Linked DNA regions of Homo sapiens: region 1 is linked to region 2. Evidence: promoter capture Hi-C in human tissues and cell types (Jung and others, 2019). All regions are on one chromosome and are shown on one strand. The core of a region is centred on a gene start or on the middle of the fragment in contact, and the rest is flanking DNA. Distances in the headings are between cores, read along the strand shown.

What was found. The method cuts DNA at HindIII sites, captures the fragments that hold promoters and counts their contacts. A contact is called where the count stands out against the background at its distance.
Region 1: a contact is called between the fragment with the promoter of EXOC3L1 here and a fragment that was not itself captured in region 2, in 10 of the 25 tissues and cell types used here (adrenal gland, bladder, dorsolateral prefrontal cortex and 7 more).

Annotation. Positions count from the first base shown.
Region 1 is chr16:67,186,924-67,192,146 of GRCh38, reverse strand. It overlaps EXOC3L1 (exocyst complex component 3 like 1), which reads left to right and starts at 2,011. Exons shown (of 14, transcript NM_178516.4): 1 at 2,011-2,176; 2 at 2,464-2,516; 3 at 2,967-3,127; 4 at 3,207-3,426; 5 at 4,310-4,922; 6 at 5,009-5,126. The coding sequence starts at 2,471. RefSeq lists enhancers at 31-170, 1-269. The HindIII fragment of the contact is 11,498 bases long and covers 1-3,058 here.
Region 2 is chr16:67,101,272-67,106,401 of GRCh38, reverse strand. No RefSeq gene overlaps it. Among named protein-coding and RNA genes, the nearest start is that of PHAF1, 6.1 kb to the left of the region's middle. The HindIII fragment of the contact is 4,683 bases long and covers 1,490-5,130 here.

The DNA of each region.
Region 1 (5,223 bases), core at 762-3,261, 88 kb before region 2:
GGCAGCCGGAGCCAGCGTTACTGCTTCCGCTTCCGTCCCGTGCGCCTTCCAGGGAACGTGGCGCTATTGCTGTCTGTGGGTGCAGCCGCAAAACTTCAGGGACCAGTAGCAAATGTCCAGCCTCCGAATAAGACGAAAACTACCTGGGTAGACCGGGGAGTTGGGATGAAGTTGGGGAGGAATGAGAAGGGCGTCAGTGGGCCGCCCTGGCAGTAGAGAAGGGGACGCCATCGGAACTTTCCTTGCCAATCTGCCCCAACATCACTAACTCTGCCTAGTCCCCATCTTGGGAGAGGAGACCACACTACCTGACTAATCCAATCTGCTCCCTCAAACCTGTTCCTTTTCCATTTTTTTCTCTTTATTTATTCTTTTATATATTTCAAACTCATTTTACTGCCACATCAAACCTGTTCCTAAAGGCTGCCCTACTGTCTTGGGGTCACCCCATCTATTCCTATCCCTCACTTCCTGCCAAACAGCAAGCACTAACTATATCTACCTTGTCCACCTTGTTCCACCCATGGTCCTAGCCTCATCTTTCGCTCGTCTTGTCCTCACAGTACAGTGCTCAGAGACTATGGGGTTATGAACACTTCAGCCAATGCAAACGTGTTTACCTATGTGTAAATATCAGTAAAGCACTCAGTCATTCCTGGCATGCAGGAATGTGTGATACGGTCATTTTGTAACTTTTAACATTGTTACTATTTATTATTGTTTCTTTTAGATCAGGTCCTCTGGGAAATGGGACTCGAGATAGGGTTTTGCAGCAAGTTTGTTGGGGATCCACACTTTTTTTTTTTGAGACAGGGTCTCACTCTGTTGCCCAGGCCGGAGTGCAGTGGCAAGATCAATGCCGTCTCAGCTTCCTGGGCCCAAGCGATTCTCCCACCTCAGCCTCCCAAGTAGCTGGGACCACAGGCATGCACCACCATGCCCGGCTCATTTATTTTTAGTTTTTTAGAGATGTGGGTCTCACTATATTGCCCAGGCTAGTCTTGAACTCGTGGGCTCAAGAGATCCTCCCACCTCAGCCTCCCAGAATGCTGGGATGACCGGTGTGAGCCACCGCACCTGGTCAGGATCCACACCTTTAAGGGATTAAGACAAGCAGAATTGAGCAGATGCAATTATATTATAGGCCTCAGCCTATCCCACTAGGATCTCTGAAATTGGGGTAGCACTTCTGAAGGGTTCATGTTCACACGATGGTACCATGCTTTTGCACCCCAATATTGACTGAGAGACTCAGTGGTGTGATCTCAGTAGCCTACACTCCTGGCAGCTGGAGAATGAGCACTTCTGTCCTGAAGGGTGGATTTGGGTGGTGGACTGAACATCCACTAAATAATTACCACCTTATAGTCCCTTCCCTGGCTCCCTATAACTCTCAAGATAAACACAGCTGCCCAGTTGCGGTGACTCACGCCTGTAATCTCCCAACACTTTGGGAGGCTGAGGCAGGCAGATCGCTTGAGCCCAGAAGGCTGCAGTGAGCTATGGTGGTGCCACTGTACTCCAGCCTTGGTGACAGATCAAGACCCTGTCTAAAACAAAAAAGATAAACACAGCTTTCATGACCCTCTCCTACCACCCCCCACCACACCCCTCTTCACAAGAGCCTGCCACCTCTCACTCCTCCGCAGAGGTACACATCCTCCTCAGAGGCTGGCCAACACAGTTTTCATCCTGTGCTGTTGATGTCGTCTGCATCCATATCTGCACACTCTGCCCACCACCCCAGGTTGAGGCCAAGTCTAGCAAATCCCTATCTCCTCTCCTGAGCACTAAGAGGTTCTGGGTAGGCTGGTCAAGACTGGTTGAGTACAAGTACACCCCACCCCCCCGCCCCTCAGGGAAGTGTCGCCCAGCTGTCCCCACCCTCTGTGCAGACACTCTTTCCTGTTGGGAATAAAATGCCAGAGACTCAGCTTCCTTCCTTTCTGTTGATGGCCTTGGGGAGGGAGGAGCCTCGGTGGGAAGAAGGGGCTTCTGGGTGGGGAGTGGGAGAGAGACTTCCTTGGGGAGAGGAATTCAGCTGCACGCTGGAGTCAGCTGGAGTTGCCCAGGCCCTGTGAGCAAGTGGCAGGCGTGCCCAGCTGCATTGGGGAGAGGGCTGTTCTCAAGGCCAAGGTCATTTTTGGAGGGAGAACTGGACGCCTGATCAAATCTGGTAAGTTCTGTACCAAACTGTCCTGTGCAGCTCAGAGCAGGACCAGGGTCCAGTGGAGGCCTGTGCCCACTCTGTCTCGCTTGACATCTGCAGGGGCACGACTGGGAAACCTAGCAGGCAAAGCCTCCCAGGTGCCCTCCGCATCACACCCGCTCCCTCTCACTTCCCGAGGGGGCCGGGAAGAACCTCCTTCCTCCTCTCAGAAGGGCTTAGACAGAGGCAGCAGCTCACAGGGGCATCTACTCTGCCTGCTTGCCCCGGGCCCACCTCAGCTCTGGCTCCTCCAGGCCCACAATGGACTCAGCAGCCAAGGATGAGATGCAGCCGGCGTTGTCCCCTGGTATGAACCTTTTGGGTGGACTAGGGGAGGAATGATGGCAACAAAGATGGGACTGGCTGGGCGCAGTGGCTCACGCCTGTAATCCCAACACTTTGGGAGGTCAAGATGGGCAGATGACCTGAGGTCAGGAGCTCCAAACCAACCTGGCCAACATAGTGAAACCCCGTCTCTACTAAAAATACAAAAACTAGCTGGGCGTGATGGCACGCGCCTGTAATCCCAGCTCCTCGGGAGACTGAGGCAGGAGAATCGCTTGAACCCGGGAGGCGGAGGTTACAGGGACCCGAGATTGCACCACTGCACTCCAGCCTGGGCAACAGAGCGAGACTCCATCTCAATAAACAAATAAACAAACAAATAAATAAATAAATAAATAAATAAGAAAGCTGGGACTGGGGTCGTTGGGCCCTCCTCCCTGACTACACGGCTGCCCAGGCTCTTCCTTCCCAGGACCTGAGTGGCCAGAGCAGGAGCGGGCAGAGCAGCTGGCCCGGGGTGCAGCGCTCAAGTGGGCCTCAGGCATCTTCTACCGGCCGGAGCAGCTGGCCAGGCTAGGCCAGTACCGCAGCCGCGAGGTGCAGCGTACCTGCTCCCTGGAATCGCGCCTCAAGGTGGGCATGGGGCAGGGGGTGCGGGTGCTGGGACTGTGCTGCAGGGCTGGCCCAGCCTCATGGCTCCATCTTTCCACAGTCAGTGATGCAGTCATACCTGGAAGGCGTGCAGACTGGTGTGTGGCAGCTGGCCCAGGCCATTGAGGTGGTGCAGGGAACCCGGGAGGCCCTGAGCCAGGCCCGTGGGTTGCTCCAGGGCATGTCCCAGGCCTTACAGACTCTAGAGCCCCTACGGGAGCGGGTTGCCCAGCACAAGCAACTGCAGGCCCTGTCTCACCTGCTGCCTCGGCTGCGGGCAGGTGAGCATGCAGGGACCCTGGGCCTCAGCCTCCAATAGTCAGTCCACAAACACCCATCCCTAATCAAGGGGCTGGGGCACTAGATGGGGAACTGCATAGAGCAGCACACCAGGGACCTCCCAGACAGTAGCCCGGGCTTCCCATGGCCTATGAGGCAGCTCATCCTGGGATTCCCACGTGTGGGATGCTTGAGTCAGGACAGACACCCAGTCATGTGACTCTGGCCACCTGGTTATCAGTATATTCAAACTCTTCCCTAACAGAGTGGCTGAGCGAGTACTGGCAGGACCCCCCGATTTCCCCTGCCTTCCCTCCAGGATCCTCAGCTTCCTCATATTCCATGAGTTCATGGGTTGACCTCTGGCCCACCAGGTCTTTAGGACATTGCCAAGATCCTCTTAGATTGGCCAGTACTCTACTGGTTATTTATTTATTTATTTATGGTTTTTTGTTCATTTTTTGTTTTGTTTTGTTTTTGAAACAGAGTCTCACTCTGTCACCCAGGCTGGAGTGCAGTGGTGTGATCTCGGCTCACTGCAACCTCCATATCCCAGGTTCAAGCAATCCTCCTGCCTCAGCCTCCCCAGTAGCTGGGATTACAGGCATGTGCCACCATGCCTGGCTAATTTTTGTATTTTTAGTAGAGATGGGATTTCACCATGTTGGCCGGGCTGGTCTCAAACTCCTGACCTCAAGTGATTCACCCACGTTGGCCTCCCGAAGTGCTGGGATTACAGGCATGAGCCACTGTGCCCAGCTTACTCTACTGGTTGTTAAATATTTTATGCATCACCCCCGCCCTGGGCCTCAGTATCCCCTGCTGTACACATTGAGGCGGTGGGAAGGCTGAGACCCAGGGCCGTCTCCTTTTCACTCTCATTAGTGCCGGCTGCAGTGTCCCACACACAGACTCTGATTGATGGCCAACAGTTCTTGGAGGCATATGTGAGCCTTCGGGAGCTGGAGCAGCTGCGAGAGGATACGTGGGCACCCCTGGGGGGCCTGGAGTTGCCAGTCTTCCAGGGGCTGGACCTTCTGTTCGAGGCACTGGGCCAGGCTGTGGAAGCAGCTGCAGGGGCCGCAGGGAAGCTGGCACGGGAGGACCCAGCCCTGTTGGTGGCTGCTGTGCGTGTGGCGGAGGTGGAGACTGGACGAACAACCCCCCTGGGCCAGGTCCCCCGGGACTGGCGTCAGCGCTGTCTGAGGGCACTACAGGAGGGCCTGGAGCAGGCCCACTTTGGGTCACCTCTGCTGCCTGCACCAGGGGCCCTACCAGGGTGGCTGGAGGCTCTGCGAGTGGCCCTGCCAGTCGAGTTGGCCACAGCTGAGGCACTAGTAGCGCCTTGCTGCCCGCCACAGTACAACGTGGTCCAGCTATGGGCCCACACGCTGCATAGTGGTTTGCGCCGCAGCCTGCAGAACCTCCTTGCAGGGCCTGAGCTAGAAGCTGCGGATGCCTTCGCCTTGCTGCACTGGGCACTGCATGTGTACCTGGGGTCAGTGCCTTTGGGGCAGCGGGACATGGGGGATCAGAGGCTGGGGGCTTGGTGGCTTGGTGTGACACCAGGCCACCTATCTCCAGGCAGGAAATGATGGGGAGCCTGGAGTTGGGGCCTGAGGCTGATGTGTCCCAGCTGGAGCCCCTTCTGACCTTGGAGAACATTGAGCAGCTGGAGGCAACATTTGTGGCCAACATCCAGGTGAGTAGTTGAGGCACAGGTCCAGAGAAGTCCTACTTATCTGCTGTGGGCCTTTATCTGCAGAGTGGAATGTCTACCCATCTCCAGCAGGGTCAGA
Region 2 (5,130 bases), core at 2,582-5,081:
TTCTGCCACTTAATAGCTTTGTGCCTTGACAAGTTAATTAGCCTCTCCATGCCTTAGTTTCTTCTGTAAAATCTGTAACAATCTCACAGATTTGTTAGGAGGTCTGTACTTGTGTGTCTGGCTTACAGGTAATTGCTTTGTGTATAACTAAAATTTTAAAACATCTAATAGTAACAGAATTGATGGAATCCACTGGCAGGATTTACAGATTGCATGTGGGAGATGAGAGAGACTGGGAGTCAAGAATAACGACATAGTTTTCCCAGCTTGGGTAGCTGGAAGGACGGTGATTGGAGGAACTGACATTGGCGTTTGGAAGGATGTCAATCCTTCTGGTAAAACTGTCACGTGATAACTTGGAAGGGAAGAAATGTAACAAGCTTGAAACATTACTTGAAGAACTTGGAAAACAATCTTAGTACCATGGTTATTTATTAATTGCATTTGCCAAGTTATTTTTTTTTCTTTTTTTTTTTTGAGACGGAGTCTCACTCTGTTGCCCAGGCTGGAGTGCAGTGGTGAGATCTCGGCTCACTGCAACCTCCGCCTCCCAGGTTCAAGCGATTCTCCTGCTTCAGCCTCCCCAGTAGCTAGGATTACAGGCACGTGCCACCATGCCCAGCTAATTTTTGTATTTTTAGTAGAGACGAGGTTTCACCATGTTGGCCAGGCTGGTCTTGAACTCCTGTCTTTAGGTGATCCACCTGCCTCAGCCTCCTAAAGTGCTGGGATTACAGGTGTGAGCCACCGCGCCCAGTTAGATTTTTTTTTTTAAAGCCAGTTTGAAAGCAGGAATGACAGGTAATGTGTACAGCAAATGAGGGATGGGGCTAAAAGTCATGGAAAATGGTGGAGCAGGGAACCCATCCTAATAGGCCTTACAAAGAACACTCCCCTCTGTTAGGGCAGAGGGCCCTCAAATGGTTTCCAGTGTCATTTCATAATTGTTACTGACCGGTGACTTCATTCTTCCCCTTTCTGAAGGCAAGTGCTTCCTGCAATTTTTCTGTCCCTGTCCCACCACTGTGTACTGGGTGCGTAGATCCTGGTCTCCACACACAATTTTAGCTCAATTGCCTGACTAGCAGGCACTTTTAGGTTTTCTTCCATGATGTGTATTTTCTTGAAGGAAGGAAAGTAAAATAATTGAAACAGTGGCCTGTTGTAGTCATCAGAGCAATTCACAAATATTCTGACTCCTGGGCAAAAAGGGTTGCATTTCCCTGCGCAACTGAAGTTGGGTGTGGCTGTGAATTGCTTGGTCCATTGAAAACAGAAGTCACGTGTATCAATTTCAGGTGAGTTTTCAAAGCCAATGCCTGTTTCATTACCTGTTTTCTTTCTTGGTTCTGTCACAATGGCTGGCAGTCCTCCAGTTCTGCTTTGTTAGCCTAGGTCAACCCCTGATGAGTATTTAGCATATAAGACATAAATCTTTAAGCCAATAAATTTTTTTGGTGTTTTAAAGCAACACACCAGCCCAGGCGTGGTGGCTCACGCCTGTAATCCCTACACTTTGGGAGGCCGATGCGGGTGGATCACCTGAGGTTAGGAGTTCAAGACCAGCCTGGTCAACATGATGAAACCCCATCTCTACTAAAAATACAAAAAATTAGCGGGCACCTGTCATCCCAGCTACTCGGGAGGCTGAGACACGACAGTTGCTTGAACCCAGGAGGCGGACGTTGCAGTGAGGAGAGATTGAACCACTGCACTCCAGTCTGGGCAACAGAATGAGACTCCATCTCAAAAAACAAACAAACAAAACAAAGCAACATAACCAGCCTATCCTGACTGATAAGAGAAATTGGGAAAACTGTCAATTATGCCTCCTGTACTGTTTATAGCTTTGAAATGTCTCCATGCCAACAAAGCTACCCTTAATCTTCCTGTGTTACTATATCGTATGATCAGTGGGACCAAGTTTCTGACTCCAGTCTTATTCTCCCCAAACAAAATTGAGTTTTCTCAAGCACCGATTCCATCAAGGTCATAAGCCCTCAATGGCTTCCTGTTCACCCTTGGGAATGGTCCAAATGTTTTATTTAACACGGTTGGAAAGGCCAGTCCAGCACTGCTTGTGACTCTTACCCTGCCCTCTGCTGGGTGGAATCTGCCCTTCTGGATTCATCTCACTGCTGCAGCCCCCTCTTTTCTGTTCCAGTCATACTCAGCTGCTCTTAGCTTCTCAAACTTGCCAAGCTATTGGCTAGCTACCTGCAATACCTTCTCTAGCTAGCTTAAGGTCTGCCATCCTTCAGATCTTAGCTCAAACATCTCTTTTTTTATTTTTGAGACGGAGTTTCACTCTTTCGCCCAGGCTGGAGTGCAGTGGTGCAATCTCGGCTCGCTGCAAGCTCCGCCTGCTGGGTGCATGCCATTCTCTTGCCTCAGCCTCCCAAGTAGCTGGGACTACAGGCGCCCGCCACCACGCCCAGCTAATTTTTTGTATTTTTTAGTAGAGACGGGGTTTCACCATGTTAGCCAGGATGGTCTTGATCTCCTGACCTTGTGATCCACCCGCCTCGGCCTCCCAAAGTGCTGGGATTACAGGCGTGAGCCACCGCACCCACCCTCAAAACATCTCTTTAGGGAAGCTTTTATTCACCACCCAGACTAGAATAGATGTACTATAAGAGCCAGTACTTCTAATGTAACTTAAACAGTGTTACTGCCTTTGGTCAGCTTTTTAGCTAGACTGTAGATTCCTTGTGAGCAGGGAACATGTTTATTTTGGACACTGGATATTTCCCCCCCTAAATGATAACCATACTTTTAGTCTCCAAAAAAAAAATAGAACTTCAACATTTTCCATTTTTATTTTTATAGGTAATATCTTGCTCTGGTGGCCCAGGATGGAGTGCGGTGGCAAGATCATAGCTCACTGCAACCTCAAAATCCTCGGCTCATGCGATCTTCCCACTCCAGCCTCCCAAGTAGCTGGGACTTAGAGGTGTGCACCACCATGCCTGGCTAATTAAGAAAAATATTTTTGTGCAGATGAAGGTCTTGCTATCTTGCCCAGGCTGGTCTTGAGCTCCTGGCCTCAAGCAATCCTCCTGCCTCAGCCCCCCAAAGTGCTGGGATTACAGATATGAGCTACTGTGCCTGGCCTTTTATTTTTATCTACAACATCTCCTCAACATTTCTGAAATCTGAATGAGGCCAATAACGACCTTAATTCTAAGTTGCTTAAATTTTCTAACCAAAAGCTGGGAGTTGACTAAAACAGTGACTTATCTGTTTCAGAATATTCCATATTTAAACAAACTAAACTGCCATTTCCATCCATGATTTCACCCTGTGACTGTCATTTTTTAGCTTTGGAACATTTCTGAAATGCCATATATGAATATATGATGGTGATGCAAGAAAAGGGGTTGATGCTATCTAGGGGGAATCATGTATTCAAATCTGCAAGACTGAAATCTTACCTTTAAAGAATGTTTAGATTAAAACACCAAAGGTATCTTTTTTTTTTGAGATGGAGTCTCGCCCTGTTGCCCAGGCTGGAGTGCAGTGGTGCGATCTTGGCTCACTGCAAGCTCCACCTCCTGGGTTCGCACCATTCTCCTGCCTCAGCCTCCCGAGTAGCTGGGACTACAGGCGCCCGCCACCACACCCGTCTAATTTTTTGTATTTTTAGTAGAGACGGGGTTTCACCGTTAACCAGGATGGTCTCGATCTCCTGACCTCATGATCTGCCTGCCTCGGCCTCCCAAAGTGCTGGGATTACAGGTGTGAGCCACCGCGCCCGGCAAAACACCAAAGGTATCTTATACTCAGTTACGTATATTTGGTAATATCACCATGGTGGTTTAGAAAGATGTCCACAAATGCTTTGACATCCCCGCCTTCAACAGATGAAGCTTAATATTCCTCCCCCTTTGAGTGTGGACCAGACCCAGTGACTTGATTCTAACATACAATATGGCAGCCCAAGATTCAGTTCTAAGACTGTGCTTTTGGCTGGGCATGGTGGCTCACACCTGTAATCTCAGCACTTTGGGATGCCGAGGCGGACGAATCACTTGAGGTCAGGAATTTGAGACCAGCCTGGCCAACATGGTGAAACCCCGTCTCTATGAAAAATACAAAAATTAGCCGGGCATGTTGATGGGCACCTGTAATCCCAGCTACGTGGGAGGCTGAGGCAGGAGAATCGCTTGAACCCGGGAGGGGGAGGTTGCAGTGAGCTGAGATTGCAGCACTGCAGTCCAGTCAGTCTAGGCAACAGAGCGAGACTCCATCTCAAAAAAAAAAAAAAAAAAAAAAAAAAAAAGACTGTGCTTTCAACTTGGGTGTGCGCTCTCTTGGATCACTTGCCTTGGGGGAAGCCAGCTACCCTGCTGTGCACTGTCCTATGGAAAGACCCAGCTGGGCATGAAATGGAAGCAGGTCTCTGTCCAACATCTAGCAAGGAACATCTGCCTTTCATCTAGCAAGCTGCAAAGAACCGAGGCCAGTCAGTGACCACATTAGTGGGTTTGAAAGGGGATCTTTCATCCAGTCAATCCTTGAGATGACTGTAGCCCAGGATGACTCTAACCTTATGAGGAACTCTGAACCAGAACCATTGATCTTAGCTACTTCCAGATTTGTGACTCACCTGTGGGATAATACGTATTTATTGTTTTAAGCTGCTAAGTTTTGGGGTAATGTGTTATGGATAATACAATGGTTTATAGATTGAAAAGCTCCTCATTGCCAAATGAGGCATAAATCAAGTAAGATATTTTTCACCAAGCAGCCCCGAGCTAGCATATCCAATTATGTTTCTAGAAGTGATATACTTACTAAAACCATGCTGTTACTGCTCAATTTTTTGAAATTAACTCTCAGAGCATGAATCCTACTCTTTGGAATTTCCCTTAATGGTGTCAATTCAGAATTTAAAGGCATTTTTGTCATTTGCAGTAAGTCTTGTGGTTAATGAGTGAATCTGTTTATCATGTGTCAAGCTTAAGGCATACTTTCAAGGAAAAGGGCTTACTTTTCTGTTGTAGGAAAATGCCAGGAGTCTTAAGAATGTTTGATATAACACCAGCACAATCAAAACGGCTGTATATTTCCAAAACAACTAGCTTGAAAGATGGAACTAATTTGGATGTGTAATTTAAAATTCTTTCT